Regions from separate parts of the Homo sapiens genome. Here region 2 is linked to region 1. The links are contacts of gene promoters, found by promoter capture Hi-C in human tissues and cell types (Jung and others, 2019). All regions are on one chromosome and are shown on one strand. Each heading gives the region's core, a stretch centred on a gene start or on the middle of the fragment in contact. The rest is flanking DNA. Distances are from core to core; before and after follow the strand shown.

What was found. Contacts are between HindIII fragments. The study calls those that stand out against the background at their distance.
Region 2: a fragment that was not itself captured here is called in contact with the fragment with the promoter of GNPNAT1 in region 1 in 2 of the 25 tissues and cell types used here (lymphoblastoid cells and mesendoderm cells).

Annotation. Positions count from the first base shown.
Region 1 is chr14:52,790,277-52,796,915 of GRCh38, forward strand. GNPNAT1 (glucosamine-phosphate N-acetyltransferase 1) reads right to left here and starts at 1,331. Exons shown (of 6, transcript NM_198066.4): 1 at 1,152-1,331. LOC105370500 (a long non-coding RNA gene) reads left to right here and starts at 1,512. Exons shown (of 3, transcript XR_943867.3): 1 at 1,512-2,050. RefSeq lists enhancers at 558-647, 728-817, 925-1,438, 1,439-1,953 and silencers at 1,128-1,207, 1,308-1,527. The HindIII fragment of the contact is 28,817 bases long and covers 1-6,639 here.
Region 2 is chr14:53,338,189-53,344,778 of GRCh38, forward strand. LOC105370504 (a long non-coding RNA gene) reads left to right here. Exons shown (of 4, transcript XR_943876.3): 1 at 1-6,590. Among named protein-coding and RNA genes, the nearest start is that of DDHD1-DT, 190 kb to the left of the region's middle. The HindIII fragment of the contact is 6,842 bases long and covers 1-5,976 here.

The DNA of each region.
Region 1 (6,639 bases), core at 81-2,580:
AAATCTAAACCAGCCTATGTATTTCTCAAGAGCTCCTGGGGAACCTTCTAAGTACAGGTGAATGGGGGAGGGGCGGACTTCGGATTCCTTTATATTCATTTTATAACAATTTCGATAACAAGAATCCATTCTGAATCTATTCCGTTAAAGATTTTTAACACACCTGGCCATATTTATTAAATTGTGTAACTGCATGAATGTTCAAAAGTATTTTCTGATAGTTTGACCTTTACAATCTAGGCGTTATTCCCAGTCTACCGATGAGGAAGCTGGAGCACCTGGAACTCCCAAGACTTGCCCCTTAGGTAACACAGCAAGTAAGTGACTTGGGGCTAGAATCCTCGTTTTCGCATCTTGAGCTCGATTACCATCCTCAACAGACCCCAATCTTTACATCATCATACCATACAGCTAGCGCTCTCTCCCCTATTTAGCAAATCCTGCCTAAATTAATTTCTTAAGATCCATTCTAGGATTCGTTCATGAGGGATTATCCTAACAAAACGAATCCTATAATCGCCCGTTCAATTTTGTATGAAAATTTTAAATTAGTTTGGCTTACATAAACATCAGCTCCCGCAACAGAAATCACAGTACAGTACTCGGTATTTCTAGGGGTAGGAGCCTAGGAAAAAGAGACAAAGAATGTCCCTCTGTACCCTGGGGAAAGCGCCGACCTACTCGGTGCGGAGGTGGTCTTCGGAGCAGCTGCCTCAATGGCTCCGACCACCGTGGGATGCGCCCGGGAATGGGAGAAGAGAAGGGGCCTGGGACGTTCGTGCCCATTCAAAACCGATGGCTGCAGAGAGCGCGACCAACTGTCTCATTTCCCACGCCAAAGTCTGGGGAGCGAAGTTCCGACCCCAGTCCCAGTTCCAGCCCTGCCAGGCCAAGACCAGCGTATGGCCGGACCGCTGGCCATCATCCTTAACCTCTGCTCCAGGCGCGCGTGCGTTCAACTTCCTGGGAACCGCGCTCCACACCATGTGCACCCAGCTGGCGAGGATTAACGCCCAGCTCCTCCACACAACACCCCCGGGGGCCTGGCCGGGGCACCAGACACACCTGTTAGATAAACCTGAGGGCAGGCCCGCCCCAGCCCCCAGGACACACGGTCCTGCTCTCGCGCCCCGGCCCCGGTCCCTCCTCACCCGTAGAGGCCCTGCGGTCGGCGCTCCTAGCCAGGCGCGTCGGACTCTCCCCCACCAGTGTGCACAGCACCGGATCCGGATCCGGCTTCAGCGCCAGCCCCACCTCCTCCTCCACCGCCCGCGCCACAGTTGGGAACCGCGGCCCAGACGTGGCAGCGCCAACGCCTCCACCTCGCCTCTGCCCCCTCACGCAGGGCCGCGCGCAGGCGAGCGGAGGCGGAGGCCAAGGCGCCACCCGCCCAGGCCCGGAGAGCGAGGGGCGGGGCCCGGAGAGCGGGGGCGGGACCAGGAGGGCGAGGGGCGGGGCTCGGAGAGCGGGGGCGGGACCAGGAGGGCGAGGGGCGGGGCCTGAGGCTCGAGTCGCGGCGCCTGGGGCGGTGGCCGCCGGACCAAAGCTGGCCTCTCCCGGCTCCTCCTCCTCGCTCCCCAAGGCCTTTCCCACCGCGTCATTGTCTCGGTTTATCTGCAGATACGTCTACCTAGCAGTCAGCCCAGCAGCGTAAGTGGTGACCAGTGTGGGCCTCTTTGATCCTGAGACCGAAGGCTCGGCCACTGGCCCTCTCCATTTGTTCCTTGTTGCCCTCCCTTCATGATTCAATCCATTAATTAGGACTTTTCCTACCAGCTGGCAGTTCAGAGCTCCGCATCCCCAGGCCTCTGAGTCACAGTTCCTGCCTTCATGAAACTAGGAGTTGGGGCCACTGCATTCTACTCCTTCGGGACTATTGTTTCATTTCTCAGTCCCTCAAACCCTTTATTGGATGAACATGGGGTTAGGACAGCGGTTCTCCACTGCAACAGTTTTGCCTCCCAGGAGACATTTGGCAATGTATGAATCATTTTCAGCCTCTCATCTGGGGTGAGATGTCATTGGAATCTACAGATGGTGGAGGGCACAGGTGAGTAGAGGCCGGGAATACTGCTTCACGCCTTACAGTGCGCAGGACAGCGCCGCACAACAAAGAATTACCTGGCCTGAAATGTCTGGAGTGCTGAGGTTTAGAAACCTTTCGTTAGGAGAAGAAAAGTGACTTTTTTCAGAGCCCCATTTCTGAAGTGTCTTACCTAAGTAGCACTTTGTCCCTATTTTAACAGATGAGGAAACAGAGGTTCAGAGATGTTACATAATTTACAAAAGTCTCATAGCTAGTAGCTCCCCTTCCTTGCCTTGTACCATAATTTTCAATTTATTGAAATCGCAAAGTATTTTATTCTTAAGCAATAGTATTCAAAGAACCCCATAGATCATATACCAGAAATCATATTTTTTGCTCATTTGTGAGATTTAAATTTCAGTTAACTCCTTTACTGATTTATGCTTTCTCAGAACTTCAAACATCAGTGAGTTGATGGCATCCATATCTCTGTTTTTATCTCTGTTTTTACACCCATACATACAAAAGAATATATAGGGCATGAGCAGAATGTGGTGGTATGCATCCGTAGTCCCAGCTACTCCAGAGGCTGAGGCAGGAGGATCACTTGAGCCCACAAGGTTGAATCCAGCCTGGACAATAGAGCAAGACCCTGTCTCTAAAAAAAAAAAAAAAAAAAAAAAGAATATGTAAGGCATAAATAAAATAAACACTCATGGCTGGGCGTAGTGGCTCACACCTGTAATTCCAACATTTTGGGAGGCCTAAGCAAGTGGATCTCTTGAGCCCAGGAGTTTGAGACCAGTCTGTGCAACATGGTAAAAACCTGTCTCTACAAAAAAAAATACTGAAAATTAGGCAGGCATGGTGGCATGTGCCTGTAGTCCCATCTACTCAGGAGGCTGAGGTAGGAGGATAACCTGAGCCCGGGAGGCAGAGGCTGCTGTGAGCCATGATTGCAAGACTGCACTCCAGTCTGGGCCACAGAGCAAGACCCTGTCTCAAAACAAACAAAAATTTAAAAAAATGCTTATGTACACACCACTAATCTTAAGCATATGGCCCTCCCCGTTTTTCTTATCAGACTTCTGGTCAAATGTTTTCAGTGAGTTTATCCTGTACAACAAACTGCTGTATGTTTTATAAATTAGCAAAAAGTGAAACATAAGCAATTCTAAAATCACAGAACACAAGGCTTGTAAGAGGTACCCCCAGAGATCTCATACTTTCCACATATACTCCTCCTTACCCACATTGGGCCATAAGAACCCAATTTCTCCTTAATAGACAAGGTCGATTACTCTGGCCAGTACAGTTAACCCCTTTCTTTGCCTGTAGGTTCACTTGGCAATGAGGAGCCCAAGATAACCAGGAGACAGTCTCAACTTCTGGTTTAATGGAACCATTGGTATGTCCTTTGGTTGATTTTTATTTATTTTTCTAGATTCTTAGAAGAAATGCTGCATTCACCATTATTCTTTTTTTTTTTTTTTTTTTTTTTTTTTTTTTGAGAGGGAGTCTTACTCTGTAGCCCAGGCTGGAGTGCAGTGGTGTGATCTCAGCTCACTGCAACCTCCACCTCCTGGGTTCCAATTAAGCAATTCTCCTGCCTCAGCCTCTTGAGTAGCTGGAATTACAGGTGCGCACTACCACACCCAGCTAATTTTTGTATTTTTAGTAGAGATGGGGTTTCACCATGTTGGCCAGGCTGGTCTTGAACTCCTGACCTTGTGATCCACCCACCTGGGCCTCCCAAAGTGCTAAGATTACAGGTGTGAGCCACCGCGTCTGACCAACAACAATATTCTCATTGGCACAAATAAGGCTATTACGTGGATAAACATAGATGTCAGTGATTGAGTTGAGAAGTGATTCAGGAACGTTGGCCTGAATGAGAAGTTTAAGAATACCTTGGCCGGGTACCATGGTTAACACCTGTAATCCCAGCACTTTGGGAGGCCAAGGCGGGCAGATCACGAGGTCAGGAGTTCAAGACCAGCCTGGCCAACATAGTGAAACTCTGTCTCTCAGAAAAAATACAAAAATTAGCTGGTGTGCTGGCACATGCCTGTAGTCCCAGCTACTCGGGAGGCTGAGACAGGAGAATCACTTGAAACCTGGGAGGCAGAGATTGCAGTGAGCCGAGATTGTGCCATTGCACTCCAGCCTGGGCAACAGCGAGACTCCATCCCCCCCCAAAAAAGAATACCTTAGCCAATTTATTTCATTTATATTTTCCTCTTAATGTTTGCACAGGAATTAGATATAACAATCCATGTCTAATTAAGTATAGAAGAGTTGTTTCACTAGGTATTACAAGTTCCAAGTGATAAGATATTATAATTTTAAATTAGCCACATTGTTTCTTTCTTAGTGGTATATAAATTAATGGCGTGTCATACAATGGATGTGTCTAAGATTGGATGAAATATGGTACAGGCCAGGCACGGTGGCTCACGCCTGTACCATTCCAGCACTTTGGGAGGCTGAGGTGGGTGGATCATGAGGTCAAGAGATCGAGACCATCCTGGCCAACATGGTAAAATCCTGTCTCTACTAAAAATGCAAAAATTAGCTGGGCGTAGTGGCACACGCCTGTAGTCCCAGCTACTCAGGAGGCTGAGGCAGGAGAATTACTGGAACCCAGGAGGTGGAGGTTTAAGTGAGCCGAGATTGCACCACTGCACTCCAGCCTGGCAACAGAGCGAGACTCTGTCTCAAAAAAAAAAAAAAGGTAATATGGTACATACTTAATATGGTCTTAAAGTTATAATTCTCTGTTATGGTTTTAATGTCCCCTCCAAAACTCACATTGAGATTTAATTGCCATGGTACAGTATTAAGAGGGTGAGGCCCTTAAGGGGTGATTAGGTCATGAGAGCTCTTCCCTCACATAATATGGATTAATGCTGTTACCGTGGGAGTGGTTTCCTGATAAAATGGATGAGTTCAGCTCCTCCCTGTCTTTCTTTCTCTTACACTACTCCTTCCATGTGATGCCTTCAGCCATGGGGTGACCCTCAACAGATACTGGTACTATGCTCTTGCACTTCCCAGCCTCCAGAACTGTGAGCCAAATATGCTTCTTTTTATTATGAATTACCCAGTCTTGGTATTCTATTACAGTAGTAGAAAATAGGCGAAGACATTCTCTAAACATGTTTATAAATTATTTCATTTGATCCTCATATGAATCCTGTGACATAAGGTGGGCACTATTATTTCCATAATGCAAGTGAAACTCAAGCAATTTTCCTTTTCTTTTTGAAACAAGTTCTCACTCTGTTGCCCAGGCTGGAATATGGCTACACAATCTCAGCTCACTGCAACCTCTGCCTTCTGGGCTCAAGCAATCCTCCCACCTCAGCCTCCCGAGTTACTGGGACTACAGGCGTGCAGCACCACACCCAGCTAATTTTTTTGTATCTTTATTAAAGATGAGGTTTCACCACATTGCTCAGGCTAGTCTCGAACTCATGACTAGCCATGAGTTCAAGCCATCATGTGCCCACCTCAGCCTCCCAACTGCTGGGATGATAGGCATGAGCCACTGTACCCAGCTATAATTTTTCTTTTTTTTATGAGTGAGGCTGTGTGCCTGTTCTCATGCTGCTAATAAAGACATACCTGAAACTGGGTAATTTATAAAGAAAAAGAGGTGCTCATGCCTGTAATCCCAGCACTTTGGGAGGCCGAGGCAGGTGGATTACCTGGGGTCAGGAGTTCAGGACCAGCCTGGCCAACACAGTGAAACCCCATCTCTACTAAAAAAATACAAAAATTCACCGGGCGTGGTGGTGGGTGCCTGTAATCCCAGCTACTCGGGAGGCTGAGACAGGAGAATTGCTTGAACCTGGGAGGCGGAAGTTGCAGTGAGCCAGGATCATGCCATTGCACTCCAGGCTGGGTGACAAGACTGAAATTCCGTCAAAAAAAAAAAAAAAAAAGTGAGCTGGGATCATGCCATTGCACTCCAGCCTGGGCAACAAGAGTGAAATTCCATCAAAAAAAAGAAAGAGGGGCCGGGTGCGGTGGCTCATGCCTGTAATCCCAGCACTTTGGGAGTCTGAGGCGGGTGGATCACAAGGTCAGGAGATCGAGACCATCCTGGCTAACACAGTGAAACCCCGTCTGTACTAAAAATACAAAAAATTAGCCAGGCGTGGTGGTGGGTGCCTGTAGTCCCAGCTACTCGGGAGGCTGAGGCAAGAGAATGGCGTGGACCCGGGAGGCAGAGCTTGCAGTGAGAGGAGATCGCGCCACTGCACTCCAGCCTGGGCAACAGAGCGAGACTCTGTCTCAAAAAAAAAAAAAAAAAAAAAAAAGAAAGAAAGAAAGAAAGGCAGAAAGAGAGGAAGAAAGAGGTTTAATGGACTCCTAGTTCCACATGGCTGGGCAGGCCTCACAATCATGGTGGAAGGCAAAGAAGGAGCAAAGTCGTGTCTTACATGGCAGCAGGCAAGAGGGCATGTGCAGGGGAACTCCCCTGTATAAAACCATCAGATTGGCCAGGCATGGTGGCTCATGCCTGTAATCCCAGCACTTTGGGAGGCTGAGGTGGGCAAATCACTTGAGTTCAGGAGTTCGAGACCAGCCTGGCCAACATGGAGAAA
Region 2 (6,590 bases), core at 1,306-3,805, 550 kb after region 1:
GGAATAAGTTAAGAATTTATTATATAGCCCACTAGAAAAATACAGAATATATGAACATTTCTAAATTTTACTATCTGCCAGCAAAACCCATAGCACTGTTGTACAGAGGGAAGAGTAGAGCGTAGGGCTTCTGTGTGTCTCTGACCATGTCAGTGAAGAAGGGATGGGGTGTGCGATCTAGATCACAGCTGGGAGGGTCATGCCAAGTCGGGAAGAGTGAGTCACTCCACAGGAGGGTTAGGCATTTGAAACAATGTGGTCTCAGAGGGTTATGGTTCCATCGGCTCCTACTCTTCACTCTCCTATAGCCTCTTTCACTTCATATTTTCACCTGGGACTACAGGACATATAATAACTACTTGATATTGAGCGTTTATTACCCACCTGACACCATTCCCAGTGTTTTATGTGTTTTTCTTAAATAAGACATGAAGTTATTAGGATGTAGACATGTTGAATAGTAATTAATGACAAACTTTGAATTTACACAGGGTCTTTTCTCCATGGATTAGCACAGGAAGACAGTGAAATGAGCAGTGAGATTCAACTTGAGATCTCAAATTGTTCGGGTTCAAGGTTATCTTATTTGGGAGAGTTGAACTCTAGGACTACTACTTATTTGTTTAGAAAAGCTATCTGACAGACGGCAAATAAATGAAACATCTGAATACATGACCGTAACTTCTATTCAGAGGGTGAGGCAGGGATGGGTAGCTGTCCACAGGTGCTAGGAGTGGCTTCTCAGCCTGGGGCCAGCTACATTTCCTAGACCCCTCTTGCACTGGAGTGGGGCCATATGTCCAATGAGTGGAACATGAATGGAAGTAACATGTCACTTTTGAGTTAATGTGGTAAAAAGCCTTTGTGCCTACTCCCTCCTACTTCACACACAGTCATGCACACTGAATAGGAACATCTGTTTTGTTTCATACATAAAATAAGCTCACATAGGTTGGGCACGGTGGCTCATGCCTGTAATCCCAGCACTTTGGGAGGCTGAGGTGGGCAGATCACCTGAGGTCAGGAGTTTGAAACCAGCCTGGCCAACATGGTGAAACCCCGTCTCTGCTAAAAATACAAAAATTAGCCAAGTGTGGTGGTACATGCCTGTAATCGCAGGTACTTGGGAGGCTGAGGCATAAGAATTGCTTGAACCAGGGAGGTGGAGATTGCAGTGAGTCAAGATAATGCCACTGCATTCTAGCCTGGGTGACAGAGTGAGACTATGTCTCAAAAAAAAAAAAAAAAAAAAAGAAGTTCACATAAAGAAAACATACGAAGTCACTGAGATTTCTGGGTTTACCTCTTACAGCAGCTAGAACTACCCTCACTAATAAGGAAAATTACCTTGAGCCATTAAAATTATAAAGGTTTATTTTGGTTTCCTTTCCAACAGAAAATTTGGTTGTGAAAGACACAAGTTAGAAAGAGCTCTTTTTCAGATGGATATAAGGCACATTTTAGAAATTTCAGCAAAAGTAAACTAATTTTTTTTCTTGGAAAACTAGCATTTAAATATTTAATTATTTCAAAGAAAAGCAAGGTGATATCGAGTGGTAGCATTTGAGAGGGAAAACTAACAGGCAGAATATAACTTTGATTTCCATAGACCTTTATAATTCAATGGAAGTTGCCTGTGTGCCATGTTCTGGGCTCTGAGTTAAGAGCTTTACATGTACATCTTCTTTAATTATGACAACCCCCCAGATTGGCACTATAATTATCCCTAGTTTAAAATGAGAAAATCGAGACTCAGGGATGTTAAATAACAAGTTTAGTGTCACACTCTAGGAAGGGATAAAGTCAGGAACCAAGCATGAGGCTGACTGCTGAGCCTGAGCTCGCCACTACTGCGCCATGTGGCTTTTCATTTTGCACACGGCATCGTCGCCACTTATGGATGAAAGTGCTAAGGCCCAGTGAAGGGAAATGCGTAGCTCAGGTCCAAACTGCCAGCATTTGTCAAAGTTGGATTTTCTGACTCTGACTTCAGTACTCTCTCAACTTGGAATACCATAAATTAAAGCAAATACTAACTTGGTTATGGGGCAGTCAATATTTTTAGAGTGTTTATAGAAAGGAAGTAATTTTGGCCTGGCAAAAGAGCAAACTGAAGGTAGTTTTACATTTCTATTTCAAAAAGAATCATTCAAATTGGGAAAATTCGCATGCGCTGGATCACCCTGTGGGATATTCAGGGAGAGCAGACCCCTTCGGCTTCCTCTCCAGCCGTTTTAAAAGCAAATTTTGTAGATTATCTCACCTGGCTTGTTGCCCTCGGAGTCTGATGCACAAAATTGCTTGGTGTTTGGCAAGATTTGATTGGCAAGAAAGTGTTCCTGTGGTTAGTTTTTGTGTCTGACCCTTGCTGGGAGGTTAAGGCTAGTTTTTATGCTTGTGCCCTCACAAAGGTGAACTACCCTGTTCACCTCCATTCTCCTCAGTAGGAGAGAAGTGTGGCCAGGAGGAGGGGCACCAAGGGGGGTGGACCTCACGGTGACAAGAGGGCTCTGGAGCCACATTTCCTGGGTTTGGGCTCCATGGCCATCATCCTCTGGGAAGTGACCTTGGACTCTGTGCCTCAGTTTCCTCATCTGTAAAACGGGGGTGGGGGTGAGACTTTTGGTTTATGTGATTGAAAAGATAACACATGTCAAGGTCATAGCCTTAGAGGAGATACACACTAAGTGCTCAGTCGAATTTAGCTATAGTATAAATGGCATATTAAAGAAAATGTCTGAAGGAGGGTGTGTATAATTAACAAAGAGCAACATAGCCTTCTTGCTTGTGAATTGTCTAGTCGTATTTTCACCAGTGTCTGCTGATACCGAATTTGGCCTAGACACAGTGGTTTGAAGGAACCAGTTGGCGACAGGGTTTGGAAGGAATAGGTCCATGTCTAAGATGTAGCATCTGGCCTCCAAGTTCCTGAGAAGCAGCAGGATCCTTGGATGGGACAGATCATTAAACATGTAGCCTTGACCACCCCTTCCTCATTCTTGGAAAAAAGCCAACAAGGTGACTCTTGGGGAATGTTTCACTCTAACCAGTTTTCTTCTTTTTTTCTCCCCTCTCTCATGTATTTTTGCTCTGAATTAAAAAAAAAAAAGTCCTGCTGTGGTCATTTTGATCTCATCATGGTTTTTAATGTCAGGCTGGTCCATTCAATATCTAGTTAGCGATAGGAGACCAGCTGCTTCTCAGGCAAAGGAAGGAAAGCACGAACCTCCATGTTCTCATCCCCCTCCTCCCAATTATGTGGTCTCTTATCCCAAGATTGCCTGGAGGAATGTGGCTTCAGGCCCTGAGAGCCTCCAGGAAACAGGATTGCTCAGGGGGCCTGAGAAACTGAAGGCAGGCACCGAGTAGGTCCAAAGAGGCCGGAAGGGCTGGTTGTGAAGCAAGGTGGAGGGAGTGGAGGGAAGTGAATGATGGGGCTGCAGAGCTTTGTCTGAGATGTGGGTGAAAGGTTAGGCTACCTATGGGCCTAGAAGAGCACTACTTTCAGAAAAGGACTGGCAAGAAGAATGTAATGAAGCGTCAGCACTGGAGCTTTCTAATCCACAGGAATGCAGCTGAATGCTAACAGGTCTTCTCTTATTCCCCATTCTCTTTTCGTGCATCTATTCTGGAAACCCAGGTCCTTGTGCTGTCTTTGAATTTCCTCTTGGCTGATGAGTTTTTAATCGTAGTTCAGAGTCTCTGGGACTTTTCCTCAGGCTCCTTCTTAAGCTTATAGGATTATCTGGCCAGATCAGTTATTCTTTCTTTTGAACTGTGTAAATTATAAATAACTTTCCTGAGAAAAGAGCACCGGATGGGGAGGCAGAAGCTCCAGCGTTGTCCTTAATTGTGTGATCTTGTAGTCACGGTCCTAGATGCCCCTTTTAGGACGGAGGCACTTACTCTCCCAACTGTTGGGAAGATGGGCTGTGATGGTTTACAGCTGAATTTATCTGTAAGCACTGCCCTTGGCCTAAGGCACTGATTGCTAGTGGTGGTGATTTTGCCCCACAGTGGATATTTGGCAATGTCTAGGGTCATTTTTGGTTGTTACAGCTGAGGGGGGTGCCCATGCTACTAACATCGAGTGAGTAGAGCTCAGGCATGCTCCTAAAATCCTGCAATGCATAGTATCCTACAATAATTATCCATTCCAGAATGTCAAAAGTGCTGAGGTTGAGAAATGCTGTCCTAAGGTAGCCACCATACCCAGGATTAAACCTCCTCCTCAAGGGCAGTCTGGATACTCTAACAGGTTAATGCAGGGGGGTACAAAGATCTGGTGCCTTGCTTCAATTTAGGGCCATCACAAAAAAGGCCATCCTAGCTCCAGAGCTCTCCATGGGATCAGCAGAGGCCTCTGGGACTGCACCACACTTCAACTCCTCCCCCTGCCCAGTCCAGCTTTGTTCCCTCACAGGCGCTATTCCTGAGAAACACTTCCCAACAAACCTTCTGCACACAAATCTCCACCTCAGAGTCTGTTTCCCAAGGTACTCAAACTAGGACAGTTCATATCAAAAACAATCCTAAGGAGCAGACTGAGTGTTGCACTCTTTTGCTCCTTGTTAAAACTGAGGCAGACTTCAATTCACTTACAGACTTCTATTAGTAATGTGTGACACAAATTGCTAATTGTATCCAGTGTCTCTCCTCTCCCATTTTATCCCAATAATACAAATTCTAATGGGACATATGCTGCCTGTATGTTAGTTAGGCTTGATAACATGACCATGCTCTGACCAGGGAGGTAAATGGTTGTGATGGGTGGCTCAATCCAACTTCTGGGTTGGGTTCTTATGGAAAAGGACCATGTCCTCTCCTCCCCTGGGCCCCTTGCCACTGGCTGGACTGCAGAGGTAATGGGAGAGACTAGAGCAGTCACCATGAAAGCCTCATGCAGAGGATGTCAAAGTAGCAAAATGGGAGGAACGTAGGTCTGTGATAATTATGGGGTCAGCCAACAAACCTCGGCCACTTTTCAGGATTTTTTTTTTTTTTTTTTTGAGACAGAGTCTCGCTTTGTCGCCCAGACTGGAGTGTAGTGGTGCGATCTCGGCTCACTGTAACCTCTGCTTCCTGGGTTCAAGCGATTCTCCTGCCTCAGCCTACTGAGTAGCTGGGACTACAGGCTCATGCCACCATGCCCGGCTAATTTTTTGTATTTTTAGTAGAGACGGGGTTTCACCATGTTAGCCAGGATGGTCTCGATCCCCTGACCTCATGATCAGCCCGCCTCGGCCTCCCAAAGTGCTGGGATTACTGGTGTGAGCCACCGCACCCGGCCCACTCTTCAGGACTTTTATGTGAGAGACAAAACTTTTTTCTATGTTACTATATTTTGGAACTCTCTTTTGCAGCAGCCAAATTAGTACTTGATAAAAGAAAAACTTCAACTGAATTAAATTTAAAGGAGTTTAATTGAGCAATGAATGATTCGCAAATCGGGCAGCCCCCAGAATTATGGCAGATTGGCAGCGACTCTAGCACAGCCACGTGGTGGAAGAAGATTTATAGACAAAAAACTGGAAATGACATATAGAAATCAGAAGTGAGGTACAGAACAGCTGGATTGGTTACAGGTTGGCTTTTGCCTTATTTGAACACAGTTTGAACACTCAGCAGTGTATGAATGGTTGAAGTACGACCGCTGGGATTGGCCAAGACTCAGGTATTATTACAGGTGCATACTCCTAGTTAGGTTTTCAATATAGGTTGCAGTTAGTCCACAAGGACTCAAATATAGAAGTACAGAGTCCTTCTCAGGCCATACTTAGTTCACTTTAACATACCTAAACTATGCATATCCTTAGCATACCAAAATGAGCATGATAAAGACTATAAAAAGATGTATTATTTTTAACGATGTTTCGTTAACCATGTTTTTTATTTTCCATTCTCAAGATAAACCACATAATTTTATGATTGAATCCCTATTGTCTGCATCATAGCTCTAACTAGCAAGGGAGAGTGGGGCTGGGAAAGAGAGTAAGAACATCAGAATCCTCTAGAAAATTGTTATGAAAATGCACACACTCAGGCCTCTCTCTTATAGAGATTGTAGTATACCTTTGGGGTGGAATATATTTCATGTAGGTGTTTTGAAAACCTAGGATAGCTTATAAAACTCACATCTGCTCTTATATGTCACCTTGCTCCATAAAGGAAGCACAGAGTAGAACCTCAACTTATGTCTTTTGAATAACTAAATGAAATTTCTAGGACTAGGGGCATAGTAGATGCTATGGAACTTTTTCTTCTTCTAGTTGCAAAGCTAACAGCTCCTTATGAGAACTCAAAAGGCACTCCTTATGTTCCCAGCAATAAAGATCTAAGGCCCAACAGATTTGTGAGTATCCAAGAGAGTAAGAGCAAAGATAGATAGAACCCTATCACTTGCTTTTAGTAGATATATTTTTAAATGGGGTTTGAAATCTAAAACTCCTCATAGACATTCAGATGTATTTCAATTAGGAGGTTATATTGTACACATGTTGTAGGTACATTAGGTGACCCTATTTTCTTGGCCAAAGAATCACTGGGCATTTATGTAAAATATTTACAGGTAGATGACCTTTGGCTAAAAC